Linked DNA regions of Homo sapiens: regions 2, 3 and 4 are each linked to region 1. Evidence: promoter capture Hi-C in 16 types of primary human blood cells and fetal thymus (Javierre and others, 2016). All regions are on one chromosome and are shown on one strand. The core of a region is centred on a gene start or on the middle of the fragment in contact, and the rest is flanking DNA. Distances in the headings are between cores, read along the strand shown. Region 1 holds the start of CARNMT1 (carnosine N-methyltransferase 1). Region 2 overlaps ABHD17B (abhydrolase domain containing 17B, depalmitoylase). Region 3 overlaps SMC5-DT (SMC5 divergent transcript). Region 4 holds the start of KLF9 (KLF transcription factor 9).

Region 1 (3,797 bases), core at 37-2,536:
CCAGGCTGGATGGCACGATCTCGGCTCACTGCAAGCTCCGCCTCCCGGGTTCACGCCATTCTCCTGCCTCAGTCTCCAGAGCAGCTGCGACTACAGGCGCCAGCCACCAAGCCCGGCTAATTTTTTGTGTTTTTAGTAGAGACGGGGTTTCACCATGTAAGCCAGGATGGTCTTGATCTCCTGACCTCGTCATCCGCCCACCTAGGCCTTCCAAAGTGCTGGGATTACAAGCGTGATTCACCGCGCCCGGCCCCAGAATAAGTTATTTCCCAAGAGCCACCCTTAGATGCTGGTAGGTGTAATGGTCTTCCCAAGACCAGGTGCTGGATAGAAGGTCCTTGCATTTTCCTCATCTGTTGCCATCCTCAGTAAAGGAGGAATTAGGACTGCCGCAAGCCCCTAAAGACTGGAAAGATGGGACGGGCGCGATGGCTCACGCCTGTAATCCCAGCAATTTGGGAGGCCGAGGAGGGTGGATCGCCTGAGGCCAGGAATTCCAGACCAGCCTGGCCAACATGGTGAAACCCCATCTCTACTAAAAATACTAAAATTAGCCGGGCGTGGTGGCGCGCGCCTGTAATCCCAGCCACTCGGGAGGCAGAAGCAGGAGAATCGCTTGAACCCAGGAAGCAGAGGTTGCAATGAGCCGAGATCGCACCACTGCACTCCAGCCTGGGCGACAGAGTGGGGAAAAAAAAAAAAGTGAAAAGATGATGGCGCCCACTTCCGACCCCCTTAAGTAATTAAAAATAGGAATTCATTTAGGAAGTGAATTAAAACTTAAATTAGGGTGGATACAAGACGTTCCTTCTAGACTTTCTGAAATAAAAATTCCGAATAAAATCATCAAAGCCGAACTTTTCCTTTTTGCCTTTCCCTTCTTTGCTAGTGCCTGGGACCGCGTTCAGCCTCCAGCTCAACAATCCGGCACTCGCCGGCTTTTAAGTCCCACCCACGCGGCCGCGCACAGGTAACGGCAGTGCCAGTCCCACCCCACCTACGAGCTCCTCCTCCGCCTCCCACCAAGGGGCCTTGGCCCCGCCCTTGGAAGCGTGGTTGTGACGTCAGCGCGCTGTCTCCGAAGCCCGGCAGCAAATGAGCGCAGACCGCACGGGCCCTCCGCGTACCAAGGCACACGCATGCGCATTGGTTCTGGGAGCCCTGAAGACCTGGCGGAGCCCAGCGCGGATGGAGGCCTGAGGGTGGCGGGGGCGGAGCGCGCCGCGAGCTGGGGGCATGTCCGCGGCGGGCGCCGTCTAGAGGAAGGCCAAGCAGCCGCCACCACGCTGTCGGTCGCGGAGAGACGCAAGCGAGCCAGGCCGAGGGCCGCGGCGGCGATGCAGCGACGGCGTCGCCCTCCGCCGCCCACCTCCCGGCTGCCCGAGGGCTGCGGGGGAGGAGGCGGTGGCAGCGAGGAGGTGGAAGTGCAGTTTTCCGCCGGGCGTTGGGGCTCGGCCGCGGCGGTTTCGGCGGCAGCGGCGGCGGCCACGCGCAGCACCGAGGAGGAGGAGGAGAGGCTTGAGCGTGAGCACTTCTGGAAGATCATTAATGCCTTCCGCTACTACGGGTAAGGAGCCCGTGGCGGACCCCGGCCCAGACCGTCGGGGCGCCCACTGGTGGCGGCGGACCCGCCGGAACGGGGGCGCTCGCCGTCCCGCCGCCACGCCTCCGAGGCGTCGGGACCCGGCTGCTGCAGCTGACCTCCGGGCCCCGAGTCACCTCGCACCACCCCAGCCCCTCCCGGCCCTGCACACCCGCGTGTCCGCCGCGCCGTCTGCTGCACAGCCTCGTGTCTTCTGACCTCAGGATCAGATTAGCTCTCCTGCCTCCGTCCTCGTAAAGGTTTGGCTTTGAGGCCGATGGGGGTGACCAGAGAAGCGCTGTAACAATTTCAGATAGAAGACGATGGTGGTACAATCGTCCACTGCTGGGCTGATTGGTGTGTGTGGTCGATGTCCTCCAAACTGAACACACGGAGAGCCCAAGTTCACCTACGCGTGGGATGCTGTAGGACGTATTTTCCCAAACTGTTACCAGTGCTTGTAAGAGCAGTTTAAGATTTCCACCCACCCCTCTTTGGCGCTGTGAACGCACTTGCACTTTTGTGTGAGCGATTGAATGATGCTGCTCAGTGTCTTTAACTGGTGGGTGATTAAGGGCGGAAGTGGTCCGGATATTCTAAAATTTGCTAATTATTAGGAGAGATGAGAGAAGTCACAATAAGAGCTGCCTTTACGTTCTTTTTTTCTGCAAATCTGTATCTAATTCTCCCTGGTGTGCTAGGCACTGTGGTAGGACCTTTATGCTCCTCATTCATAAAAACAGCTCCCTAACTTCCACGTTTCTTCTAGATAGATGTTAAAGTAGCTTAATCACAAAATTATAATTCCAAGAGCTGAAAGGGACTTAAATCAACTGGATTTTCAGGTGAAGATAACACTTTTATTCACGTAAGAGATATGAGTCCACCGGTGACTATGTTCTGAGGCTGCAGTTGGAATCAGACAGACATGACCTCCTACGCAGGTAAACCTGTTCCCATAGGTGGGTTCCTGCTGTGCTTTATGCAAAGTTTTTTTATATTGTTCATCTTATGTATTATAGTTGTTTTTATAAATCTCTTGCTTTGCTGTGACCTCCTCAAGGGCAGGGGCTGAGTCTTTTTTATTTTTATGTCACTAGTGCTTGGCATATGTTGTTTAAGCTCTATTTTTAACAAAACAAATAGTAGCAAAGAAATACATTTCTCATTCCCAAATAGTCTGTCAAGTTTTTGACTGATAGTTAAATTAGTTTACTAGTCTGAATTTAGAAGCTTGCTTAGTGAAAGCTTAAAGTTATTTGGAATCTGATTGTATATGTGATAGGAACTTTTGAACTTCGAAGATCTTGATGAAATAATTTACTGATTAAACCCAGAAATAGGGACCAGGGACAGCATTACTTTACGGAGCCCAAAAGAGAAGTTTGGATATTTTATTTCTCCAGGTTTAGTAGTAACAGAGGGAGCAAGGCGTCAGACCATCAGAGAATTGAATTTGATGCAGGAATTGTGACGGAAAGAACCATAAAGTTAGGAAAGGCAGCTAACATCAGATAGCTAAGAGTGGGAGATACAGAAAAGTCTGGTACATTTTGCTCTTGAAAAATCTAGAAAGAATATTGGGAAATGTCTTGGGAATATGGTGGACCCATTTAGTTAAGTGCGTAGTTGTACTTACTTTTAATATATTAGGACCAATTTAAAATTGATATTTATGGGTAAGTATGGGATGGGACTTTGTTGGGGTAGGGGTTGATCAGGAACTGAAGTGTGGCAATATAGAGAAGAGATCTTGTGTGAATATTCTAGTGGTTGTGATACTATTTCCTATACTCTCTTCTTTACCAGCGTAATGTTGGATTCAGGACATTTCATTTTTTAAAAAAAACAGTTTTTATTTGTATATACTCTCTTGAAACACTTCAAATACTTGGGCTGAAAATAGTATAACATCAAAAATATGCTTTTTAAAATGTCACTTAAAGCCTAGGGGTACAGAAAGTTTATGTAGCAGAGAACAGTGGATTGTTACATTCTAATATTTTGTGATCTTCTAGACTTAAACTGTAGCCACTAATCATATCTGGATAAATTTAAGCTAAAATTAATTAGTATTTAATAAGCTTTAAAATTTAGTTGCTCAGTTTCACTACCCATATTTCAGGTGCTCAATAGCTACATGTGGCTAGAGTCTGCTGTACTGGACAGTGCAAATAAAAGCTTTTCCATTATCGAAGTAGGTTGTGATGGACAA
Region 2 (3,501 bases), core at 488-2,987, 3.1 Mb after region 1:
CATGGAGGGTGGCATCCCCTTCCTACATGCCTTGCCCTGTGCATCTCTTCAACTGTATCCTTTGTAATATCCTTTATAATAAACTGGTAAATCTGTCTCCCTGAGTTCTGTGCGTCGCTCTAACACATTAATCAGACTGGAGTAAGAGGTTGTGGGAACCCCAATTTATAGCCAGTTAGTCAGAAGCATAGGTAAAACAACCTGGGGCTTTAGATTGGGATTGGAAGTGGGGAGCCCTCAACCTGTGGGATGTGACACTGTCTCCAGGTAGATAATGTTGGAATTGAACTGGGTGGGAGGACACCCACCTGGTGTCCACTGCAGAAGCGATTGCTTGCATTGGGGGAAATCTCTCATACATCTGGTCACAGAAGTATTCTGGTGATTGTTGTGGTGTGAGTGCAAAGGACAAAATAGTTTGTTTTAGGTACAATGGAATATTTTTCAGCCTTGAAAAGGAAGGGAAATTCTAAGACATGCTACAATGAAATAAGCCTGTCACAAAAGGACAAATATTGTATAATTCCACTTGTATGAGGTACTTAGAATAGTCAAATTCATAGAGACAAAATGGTGGTTGCCAGAGGCTGGCAGGAGAAGAAAATGATGTTATTGTTTAGTGGGTATAGAGTTACAGTTGGGGAAGATGAAAAATAAAATCTGGTGATAATTGCACAATAATGTGGATGTATTTAATGCCATGGAACTGTACACTTAAAATAGTAACTTTTATCTATATTTTACCATAATTTAAAAAACACAACATTATTTCCCTACAGTGACCAAGATACAAAAACCACTCATTTTGGAAAACAGCTGTAGGAAATGACAACCTCCCTTACTCTCTCACCTCTGCACTTCCCCCACCTTATCACCTGCCTTCCCCCCCCCAAATTAATTTGCTAAATGTAAATTTATGTTTATAAATTTTATATTAACTAAATTTTGGTAAATATAGTGTACTTGTTTAGGAGCTTTGTGTTTTTTGTTTGTTTGTTTTTGTTTTTTTTTGAGAGGGAGTCTCACTCTGTCACCCAGGCTGGAGTGCAGTGGCGTGATCTCCTCTCACTGCAAGCTCCACCTCCCGGGTTCATGCCATTCTCCTGCCTCAGCCTCCCAAGTAGCTGGGACTACAGGCGCCCGCCACCACGCCTGGCTAATTTTTTTGTATTTTTAGTAGAGATGAGGTTTCACCGTGTTAGCCAGGATGGTCTCGATCTCCTGACCTCGTGATTCGCCCACCTCGACCTCCCAAAGTGCTGGGATTACAGGTGTGAGTCACTGCGCCTGGCCAGGAGCTTTGTTTTTAGTAGCCGGAACAACTTTGAAAACCTGAAGTTTTTCAAATTATAAATTTCTTCATTCTTTTTATATACTATGGAAGATTGTATCTGAAGCTTATGAGAACATCTTAGTTACAAAGTTTTAGAACTAGAAGAAACCTTATTATCAGTTTATGCTTTTCACTTTGTAGAAAAGGAAAATGAGGTATAAAGAGATTGACTTCCCTAAAGTCACCAGCTTTTTAATAGTAAAACTAGAACTGAAAGCCATGGCTCTTTTGATTCTTAGTGCTCTTTGGACTACACTGTGCTATCGTGCTGTCCAAAGGCTTCGTTGGCATCTCACTAGAAGAATTTACTGGGTAAAATTTTTAATTACATTATTGGACCAAGAGTTAAAGCTGTACTATGTTCTCGAATATTTGTAAAGTATCTTCTGGTCCCATTGAAGAGATAAACAGAACATACTTGTTTGCCCTATAGACAGGGTATGAGTGTGTGTGAGAGAGAGAGTGCGTATGTGTGTGTTTGTGAGAGACAGACTGACACTGACTACTCTATCTCCAAAATCCTCTTTATTCTAGCAGTTACAGGAGTTCCAATTCTGCAGTCAGTCCTATTCAGACTATAGGCCTTCTGGGTCAATAGGCTTACACAAATATAAAGGAAACCCAATTTAGTTCTTTGCTTAGAAATATGAACAGTCAAGAAAGAAGCATTCCAACAGCATGAAACCCAAGATGAACAAGCATTACCTGAAAAACACAAATGAAGAGAACAAAAAGAAAAGCTTTATAGATATAGTGGATAGTCCTAGGATTCCTAAAAAGGAATTCCACATGGAACAGAGAAGATGGAGAGGAAATAGAAGAAAAATTATCTGAGCTAAGTAAAGACTCGGGGCTTTAGATCAAATGGACCCATTAAGTATAAAACAAAATGGACAAACAATAACACACATTTAGATAATAGGCTTATGAAATTTCAGAGCTAAGGATGTAGGGAAATCTCATAAATATTTTTGAGAGATGAGAATCACTTTTAAAAAATCAGATTGGTAGACACTTTTATTACTTGGTACTAGAAAATGTGGACCAATGATTTAAATTTCGAGGAGAATTTTAAGAAACAACCTATAATTCTGAAGCAGACCTAGTTTGCTGTAAGTGTGGAAGTATACATAACAGTGTAGTTTACTTCGCCAGACCTTTGGGTAAGGGGGTGGGGGGTAGTGCTTGGGAGTTGTAGTACAGCAAAATCAAACAAAAAAATCTTACAAAAAGGAGCTTGAGATTCAGAATCAACAGAGGTATGTGATGAAAAGAAGTACTAGGTAGGCAGGCAACTGGGCTGTGAACTAACCCAGAACATAATTATTTCAAATTAAAACAGAAATCACTGGGGTCTAAACATGTCTTTAAGAACAACATGGATTTTGTTGAACAAATTCTAATAAATTGGAATATGTTAAATGTAATAAAAAGGCAAAAACTTCAGAAAATTAAAGCCTCTTCTGAAAGTCCAAATGTGAAGCAAACGAAAATGTGCCTTATTTTTGAACAGTGAGGTGTAATTGAGTATCAAGAATGTAAACACCTTGACACTTGGAATTTAGTGACATAAAATTGCTGTTTATTCTCTGAGTTTTACCATGCCCCTTGGATGGGCAGTGAATGACACTGTAAGTACTTTTTATTATCCAATTAATGAGAATCAACCAATAGATAAAAACTTAATAAATTGCAAATGATATAAAACTTAATGTGAAACTTAATTGTATAGTCAGCAATAATGGTATATGATTACATGGGGGAGCCAGAAGAAACTTCCTAAAGTTGATAGAATAAGAAATACAGGTTCAGCTATAATATCTAAAGTTATAACTAATACAAACTAAAATAAATCAGAATGAGCATAGAAGGTGGGAATTAGGGTAAATCTTCTCAGTCTTTCGTGTGTGTGTGTGTCTGTGTGACAGAGTCCAGCTCTGTCACCCAGGCTGGAATGCTGTGGCACAAACTTGGCTCACTGCAACCTCTGTCTCCTGGGCTCAAGCTATTCTCCTGTCTCAACCTCCCGACTAGCTGGGATTGCAGACATGCACCGTCACTCCCAGCTAATATTTATTTATTTATTTATTTATTTATTTATTTTTATTTTTAGTAGAAACAGGGTCTCACCATGTTGGCCAGGCTGGTCTTGAAACTCCTGACCTCAA
Region 3 (3,579 bases), core at 1-2,500, 4.8 Mb after region 1:
TAGTATTTTGAAAGCCACTTTATTGCTTCCCGAGCCTCAGTCATGTGTGGTGGGAGGCTGCTGTGGGTGGCACCTGGGGCGTCCACGGCCGCCAAGGCGGGAGGACGTCAGGCCCTGCTTGCTCCCACCCCTTCCAGGTGAGAGCTCCCGGGCACGCCCGTCGTTGGCTCTTCGTCCTCTTGGTGTTCTTCCCTGTTGCTTCAAATCAGGTTCCTGTCTCAAAAATCCGAAAAAGAAATCCTCCCAAATGACTCTGTGCCCGACGCTCCGTTAAGGCATCGTGCTAGGCGTTCTCAAACTCGTGAAATGACTACACTGCACAGGTTAACCTCATTGCTACTCTTCCCCTTGCCTCCTAATTCTCTGGTTAAACTTCCGCCCCCGAGGTTTCTAGAAATCCCTGAGCTGGAATGCGCTGCCTTCATTAAGAGGGTGTTCTGCTTCCGTCTGCTCACATTCATCTAGTAAGCCCTCTCGTTAAAGAGGAGGCAGCACACCGAGGCCTGTCTAGAACTTCTTTCATTTAACCAACAGTGAATATCTAATCTACAAGAAACTGGAGCCGTGGCAGTTTAGGAGCCTGCCAAGGTTGCATCCCTGGGAGCTTATTTTCTATTGTGGGAGACAGGAAAAGAACAAGTGAATCAACTGTGAAATTAAATAATTCAAACTTAAAGCTGTTGGAACTTTAAATTATTCTGAGCCTTGCGAAGAATGTGGCGATGGGGCCTGAGTCCCATGGCATACAGCTGCAATGTCTGCCTTGTTTTTTCCTATAATCAGGAAGACCAAACAGAGACAGAGGTAAGACCCCCTCAGATCACTACCCCCTTCATAAATTAATATAGTTATCTTCCTTGGAATGTAGCTATCTATAACTAATCTAATCGCTGTAATTTATGCACTGCTCTTGTATTGAAAATGTACTCCTGCTGAACCTTCTCTGTTTCTGCCTGTGTAAATGAAACCTTAACTTCACTTTGGAACATTGACCCTATTTGTTTGGAGTTGGTGTTTCCAGGTGGCTGTCCTCAAGCTTTGCGTTAGAATAAACTCTATACTTAATGATATTTTCTGAATTTCACTACTTAAGGCTGACACAACAAATGATTAGCATAATGTCAGACTGTGACAGGTGTTAGGAAGAAAACAAAATGAACCTGATGGGTGGGAGGTACGGAAGGCCTCTTAGAGAGGTGGTGGTGTTTAAGATAAACTCTGAAGGACGAGAAGAAACTGTGACGATCTGAGAAAAGAGCACCCCAGGCAAAAGAATTTTGCTGGAACATACCAGTAAGGACAAAAGCTCTGAGGTGGGAAGGCCAGTGTTGCTGCAGAGCAGTGAACAAGGTTGCAGAGCAGAACCTTGTCCATCGTGGAAAAGCCTGAATTTTATTTTTAAAGCAATGGGAAGCCATTGCAAAGTTTTAAGCAGGAGAGGGCCATGTTCTGACTAAAGCTTTTAATTTTTTTATTTGATTTTTTTTATTTGATTTTTTTGAGACAGAGTCTCACCCAGTCGCCCAGGCTGGAGTGCAGTAGTGCCACCTCAGTTCACTGCAAACTCTGCCTCCCTCGTTCAAGCGGTTCTTCTGCCTCAGCCTCCCGAGTAGCTGGGATTACAGGTGCATGCCACCACACCTGGCTAATTTTTGTATTTTTAGTAGAGACGAGGTTTCACCATTTTGGCCAGGCTGGTCTGTAACTCCTGACCTCAAGTGATCCGCCCACCTCGGTGTCCCGAAGTGCTGGCACTACAGGCATGAGCCACTGTGCCTGGCCTTAAAGTTTTTAAATAATAATTCTGGTTGCTGTGTGGAAAATGGATTAGAGGGCACCAAGTGTGGAAGTGGAAGGCCACTTAGAAAGCTATTGCAGTAGATCCCTGATTCCTGACTCCTAGACCAAAGCTCCTTTCCCAGGTCTCTGCTGCTTCCTCTCACACAAGGACTCCGCTCCAGAGAAAATAGAGTAAGTAAAAAGCATGTGAACTTGTCGTAGTTACTGGAAATTTTCTTAAATGCAAATGAAAATGAGAGAGACGGGAAGGAAAAATCATTGAAAAAATTCAGACTGCAGCAGCAGCCTACCTGAAAAGTCACAGCAACAGGCAAAAAATAAAACAACCTTGGGAAAACCTCAGGTTGCACCTGGACAGATAGACAGCTTTAAGCACAGATAAACAAGCACAGGAGTGGGAGAGTCTCGACTTCATACTCATACAATGGGCCCCAGTAAAAACTGTGAGACTTAATAAGTACATTCCTTTCCGTTTAGGCCCACTAAGATACGGAAGCGAGAAGCTTATACAGGGAGGGTTGGGGGATGCCTGCAGCTGCAAGAAAATGTCTGGGAACAGACACAGAAACTTAAGCGACACAAAGCAGCACAGAGCAGCATAAACTAAAAGCCTGCTTATGTGATCAAGGAATTGGGTAAAGGCTGTTAGGAACTCTGCTCTATGCCGATAGCACACCTGGTCCCAACTAAATCTTCAGGCCCTGGGAAGATAAGACACCCCTCCTCACTAGTCCATTTATAAAAACCCTGACGTTTTTACTACAACTTGGCAGTCCAGTCAGACTCCCCTCTCTAATGCAGAGAGCTTCTTTTCTTTCTTTCACTTATTAAACTTTTGCTCCAACCCCACCTTTGTGTCCACGTTCCTTAATTTTCTTGGACGTGAGGACAAAGAACCCAGGGTACTAGTTCAGACAATGAGAAACTGCTACGTTAAGGTGCGTTGGTGAGACTGCAACAAAAATAAAGAATAATTTTTAAACTGTTCAAATGGCGGTGAGTAACGAAAAAACTCAGTGCTCAGGAGGGCACAATACTGTCCTTCCCTGAGTTGCTAGCATGAATTTTTTGAAAAGTAAAGGCTCTGCTTCAAGAGCTGTAGAAAAGTCAGATTGTTTGATGAAGTTACTACATTTAGGGGAATCTACCCTGATGAACAAATAAGAATTATAGACATTAGTAATGGGAGCTGAGGGCAGGGAGCTAGTCATCATTTTTGTACAATGATCAGTCCTTTTTTTTCTTCCCTTTTTTGGCAATCAATAGCAACATTTATTTCCTAGATCCCCCAGGAGAGGGGTAAGGAGCCAAGAAACCCCACATTATAAGACTTGGAGCCTCTGAAGTAGCTGTGTGAATAGCATGATTAAATAATTTCAGATTTTCTGTGTCTTCTTGAGTCAGTTTTAATAGGTTGTGCTTTTCAAGTAATTTGTCCTTTTCATCTAAGTTGTCAAACTTATTACATGAAGTTATGTGTTAATATCCATTAACGTTTGCAGCATCTATAGTGATGCTTCCTCTTTCTCACTTGATACTGGTAAATTGTTCATTTCTTCCTCTCATTTATTAATCTAGTAGAGGTTACGTATGTTTTATTAATCTTTTTAAAGGAACAACTTGATTTTTGCTTTTGTTGACTTTTGATTTCATAATTTCTACTTATCTTCGTAATTAACTTTCTGTTAAAGTTTAATTTGTTCTTTCCCCTCCAGCTTTTTAAAATTTGTTCTTTCCTCCTCAGCTTTTTAAAAATTATTTTTTGAATATATATATATT
Region 4 (3,426 bases), core at 24-2,523, 4.6 Mb after region 1:
TTTTTTTAAGCTGTACACTTTTATTGAACTGGTCTTGTCAGGTTTGTTATTTTTTAATTAAAATCTATTATACTCTTACTTACCTGAGCCACCCTTAGTTATGATTTAAAAAAAAACAAAAAAAACAGGGCCTTGCTCTGTTGCCCAGGCTGGAGTAGTACAGTGGTGTAATCAGGGCTCACTGCAGCCTTGACCTAGGCTGACGCAGTCCTTCAGCCTCAGCCTCCTGAGTAGCTGGGACTACAGGTGCGAGCCACCACGCCTGGCTAACTTTTTTTTTATTATTATTATTTTTGATGTACCACTTTAAAAACAAAGTCAAAAGAAACTACTGTAGATCTCACATTGGTAGAGTCAATTTGAGACCCTTGCCTCGGAGACCAGAACCTGGTGTAACTTTCTCTTAACAAAGGTTAATAGCCAGTGGGGGGTCAGGGTTGGAACTCACCGAATCTGCATCACATAGAATCAGGTACCTCTCACATTCACGAAAGTGAATTATTTTTAATGAATTGTGCTGACAGTATGCCTCTTGCAAAAAGAACTAGCCCTAGATTCTTTTCTAGCTATCAAGATGGAAAACAACCACATCGTTAATTCAGACGGAGGGGTAAACCAAGTTAATCAGACTCCAAGACCCATACTAATTGTTGACCAAGTAATGCCACAGTATTCCATGGCTAAGGATTTCCAGCTTGTTCCAGTCCCTAAAAATCTGTTCTGCACAGTTAATATTTCACAAAACCAAAAGGGCTTAGTTGCAAGCACAAAGAGCTAGAAATCAGGAGACTTGTGGTTTCTATTGAGTTCTATCATTATCTGTCTAATAAGATAAATAAGTCACTTCTCTGTAACTCAGTTTCCACATTTGTGAAGTGAGGGAAGAGAAACATGTCCTAAAAACCATGCAGGGGCTCTGGAAAGAAAAAGAGCTAAGAATGGTGGGTTTTTTATAAAAGTTACACAAATGAATGGTTTTTGTCTCCGTTTTTCTGAAAGTGGGTTAAAAATAGCCTCCAAATAAAGCTAAAAGAATTTATTTAGACTAAATTGCACCAGAGAAGTAGAGGAATTAAGAGATATGACAAGCAAAGATGGGATGTTTCAATGGAAGAATCTCAGGCAGTAAAAAGGCTATGCTGTAAAACCAGAACTTTTGTTAGCACTGCATTTTTAAGATGAATTGGTCATAGTTAATGTATTGGATGGAAGAATTTTTAAACATCTGCCCCAAAGTATGCTGCATCCAAAAAATATATAACAAAACGAATTCTTACTCATTTGTGTTTATTCTTGGACTTATCCTGACATAATGGGGTTTTTTTAATTATAGATTCACACTGCATTTATTCATCACCCCTGTCCTCTCATCCATAACTCAAATTTACTACCAGCAACACAAAATACAAAGATGTGTCCAGTTTCACTACAGCTCTTCGCGTTTACAAGTGTCGAGCGCTTGCTTTCGGAACGCCCTTGTGATTGGCCGAGCCAATGCCAGTGACATCAACCAACTTACTTTTGATTGGAAGGCTGGTTGCTGGGACTGTAGCGTTTGCAGGAAGTCACTTAACTGTTTGGGAGCTGGAAAACCGAAGCTGAAGTTCTCTTTTGCCATAGGAACGAGCGCAACTGACTAGGAAAGATGTGTCCCAAAGCTCCGCAAGCTGGAACGTGAGCCAGGAGGCCCGGACCGGCCACGGGACCGCGAGGCACTCCGAAAGTGTGCGGCTGCCCCTTCCCTGCCTCCCAGCTGTTACCCTTTTAAATGTCAGTGTTCGAGGCTGTAGGGGTAGCACGAGGCAGCGAAACGGAACAGTCGGATTGGCCGCACGCCTCAGTTCTAGACGCACCTCTCCACCGAAGGCCGTTCTGACTGGCAGGGGGAGAAAGTAAACAGAGTTGAATCACCCTCCCCACTGGCCAATTGGAGGGGGTTTGGTTTGTGACGTGATGGGATTCTGCGAAATTGTTACTGAGCAAGAGAATGCCGGAACGGTGCGGACCGGCCGGAGCAGGGGTTCAGAAGCCGTCAGTGGACTCGGGAAAAAGTGTCTCTTAGACCTGGCGCTCGGCGGGACCCTCGCCACCCGCGTCGGGGTGATCGGGTGAATGTCCTGGGGCTTTGGCTCGACGGCGAGGCGGCCGAGGGCGTGCACCTCTCTTGCAGTTTCCTCTCCCAGCGCCTCGGGGGCGTTTTCAGTCGAATAAACTTGCGACCGCCACGTGTGGCATCTTTCCAAGGGAGCCGGCTCAGAGGGGCCGGCGCGCCCGTCGGGGGATCGCGGCCGGCGCGGGGCAGGGGCGGCGGCTAGAGGCGGCGGCGCGGCGGAGCCCGGGGCCGTGGATGCTGCGTGCGGAGGCGCTGCCGGTTACGTAAAGATGAGGGGCTGAGGTCGCCTCGGCGCTCCTGCGAGTCGGAAGCGCCCCGCGCCCCCGCCCCCTTGGCCGCCGCGCCGTGCCGCGCCGCGCCGCGCTCGTCGTCCGAGGCCAGGGCAGGGCGAGCCGAACCTCCGCAGCCACCGCCAAGTTTGTCCGCGCCGCCTGGGCTGCCGTCGCCCGCACCATGTCCGCGGCCGCCTACATGGACTTCGTGGCTGCCCAGTGTCTGGTTTCCATTTCGAACCGCGCTGCGGTGCCGGAGCATGGGGTCGCTCCGGACGCCGAGCGGCTGCGACTACCTGAGCGCGAGGTGACCAAGGAGCACGGTGACCCGGGGGACACCTGGAAGGATTACTGCACACTGGTCACCATCGCCAAGAGCTTGTTGGACCTGAACAAGTACCGACCCATCCAGACCCCCTCCGTGTGCAGCGACAGTCTGGAAAGTCCAGATGAGGATATGGGATCCGACAGCGACGTGACCACCGAATCTGGGTCGAGTCCTTCCCACAGCCCGGAGGAGAGACAGGATCCTGGCAGCGCGCCCAGCCCGCTCTCCCTCCTCCATCCTGGAGTGGCTGCGAAGGGGAAACACGCCTCCGAAAAGAGGCACAAGTGCCCCTACAGTGGCTGTGGGAAAGTCTATGGAAAATCCTCCCATCTCAAAGCCCATTACAGAGTGCATACAGGTTAGCGGCGTCGCCCTCTCCCCCGGAGCTCTGGGGTTAGTTAACCTTTGGCCAGGCAGCGTTCCTGGGCGTTCGGGACACTGCACTCGGCCGAAAGGGTGCAAACATGTTGGATAAGATGCGGTTTAACTCTTTAAATAATTTAAATGTGCATTGGCGGAAAGCTCACTCTCTCCTTAATTGTCCCCGGCCTCCGGGAGCCACGGAGAGCCTTAAACTGGCGGGCAGAGCGAGTGCGGTGCGTGGCTTCGCGGGGAGTGGTGTCCGCCCCTCCCCTGTCCCGCCCCGCCCCCGGGACTCTCCCGCACCCCGCGACGGTGGGGCCACCCCACCTGGGAGACGCTGGCAGCGGGGA

Evidence for each region. Contacts are between HindIII fragments. The CHiCAGO score rates a contact against its expected background, and 5 or more counts as called.
Region 2: a fragment that was not itself captured here is called in contact with the fragment with the promoter of CARNMT1 in region 1 in 1 of 17 cell types (erythroblasts); the score reaches 5.6 in erythroblasts.
Region 3: a fragment that was not itself captured here is called in contact with the fragment with the promoter of CARNMT1 in region 1 in 2 of 17 cell types (total B cells and total CD8 T cells); the score reaches 8.1 in total B cells.
Region 4: a contact is called between the fragment with the promoter of KLF9 here and the fragment with the promoter of CARNMT1 in region 1, in 1 of 17 cell types (total B cells). The highest score is 6.3, in total B cells.

The regions. Positions count from the first base shown.
Region 1 is chr9:75,025,782-75,029,578 of GRCh38, reverse strand. CARNMT1 (carnosine N-methyltransferase 1) reads left to right here and starts at 1,286. Exons shown (of 8, transcript NM_152420.3): 1 at 1,286-1,567. The coding sequence starts at 1,338. RefSeq lists a silencer at 1,065-1,754 and an enhancer at 2,405-2,454. The HindIII fragment of the contact is 4,364 bases long and covers 1-2,817 here.
Region 2 is chr9:71,890,043-71,893,543 of GRCh38, reverse strand. The region is part of intron 1 of ABHD17B (abhydrolase domain containing 17B, depalmitoylase); the gene reads left to right. Among named protein-coding and RNA genes, the nearest start is that of ABHD17B, 19 kb to the left of the region's middle. The HindIII fragment of the contact is 676 bases long and covers 1,400-2,075 here.
Region 3 is chr9:70,255,140-70,258,718 of GRCh38, reverse strand. It overlaps SMC5-DT (SMC5 divergent transcript), which reads left to right. Exons shown (of 4, transcript NR_039990.1): 1 at 1-323; 2 at 784-804. Among named protein-coding and RNA genes, the nearest start is that of SMC5-DT, 1.9 kb to the left of the region's middle. RefSeq lists an enhancer at 1-174. The HindIII fragment of the contact is 423 bases long and covers 1,039-1,461 here.
Region 4 is chr9:70,412,504-70,415,929 of GRCh38, reverse strand. It overlaps KLF9 (KLF transcription factor 9), which reads left to right and starts at 1,273. Exons shown (of 2, transcript NM_001206.4): 1 at 1,273-3,071. The coding sequence starts at 2,567. It overlaps KLF9-DT (KLF9 divergent transcript), which reads right to left and starts at 1,740. Exons shown (of 4, transcript XR_001746710.3): 1 at 1,520-1,740. LOC124900273 (a long non-coding RNA gene) reads left to right here and starts at 3,124. Exons shown (of 2, transcript XR_007061576.1): 1 at 3,124-3,426. RefSeq lists enhancers at 1,561-1,690, 2,031-2,110, 1,939-2,792, 3,131-3,240, a promoter at 1,422-2,224 and silencers at 2,401-2,580, 3,316-3,426. The HindIII fragment of the contact is 11,812 bases long and covers 1-3,426 here.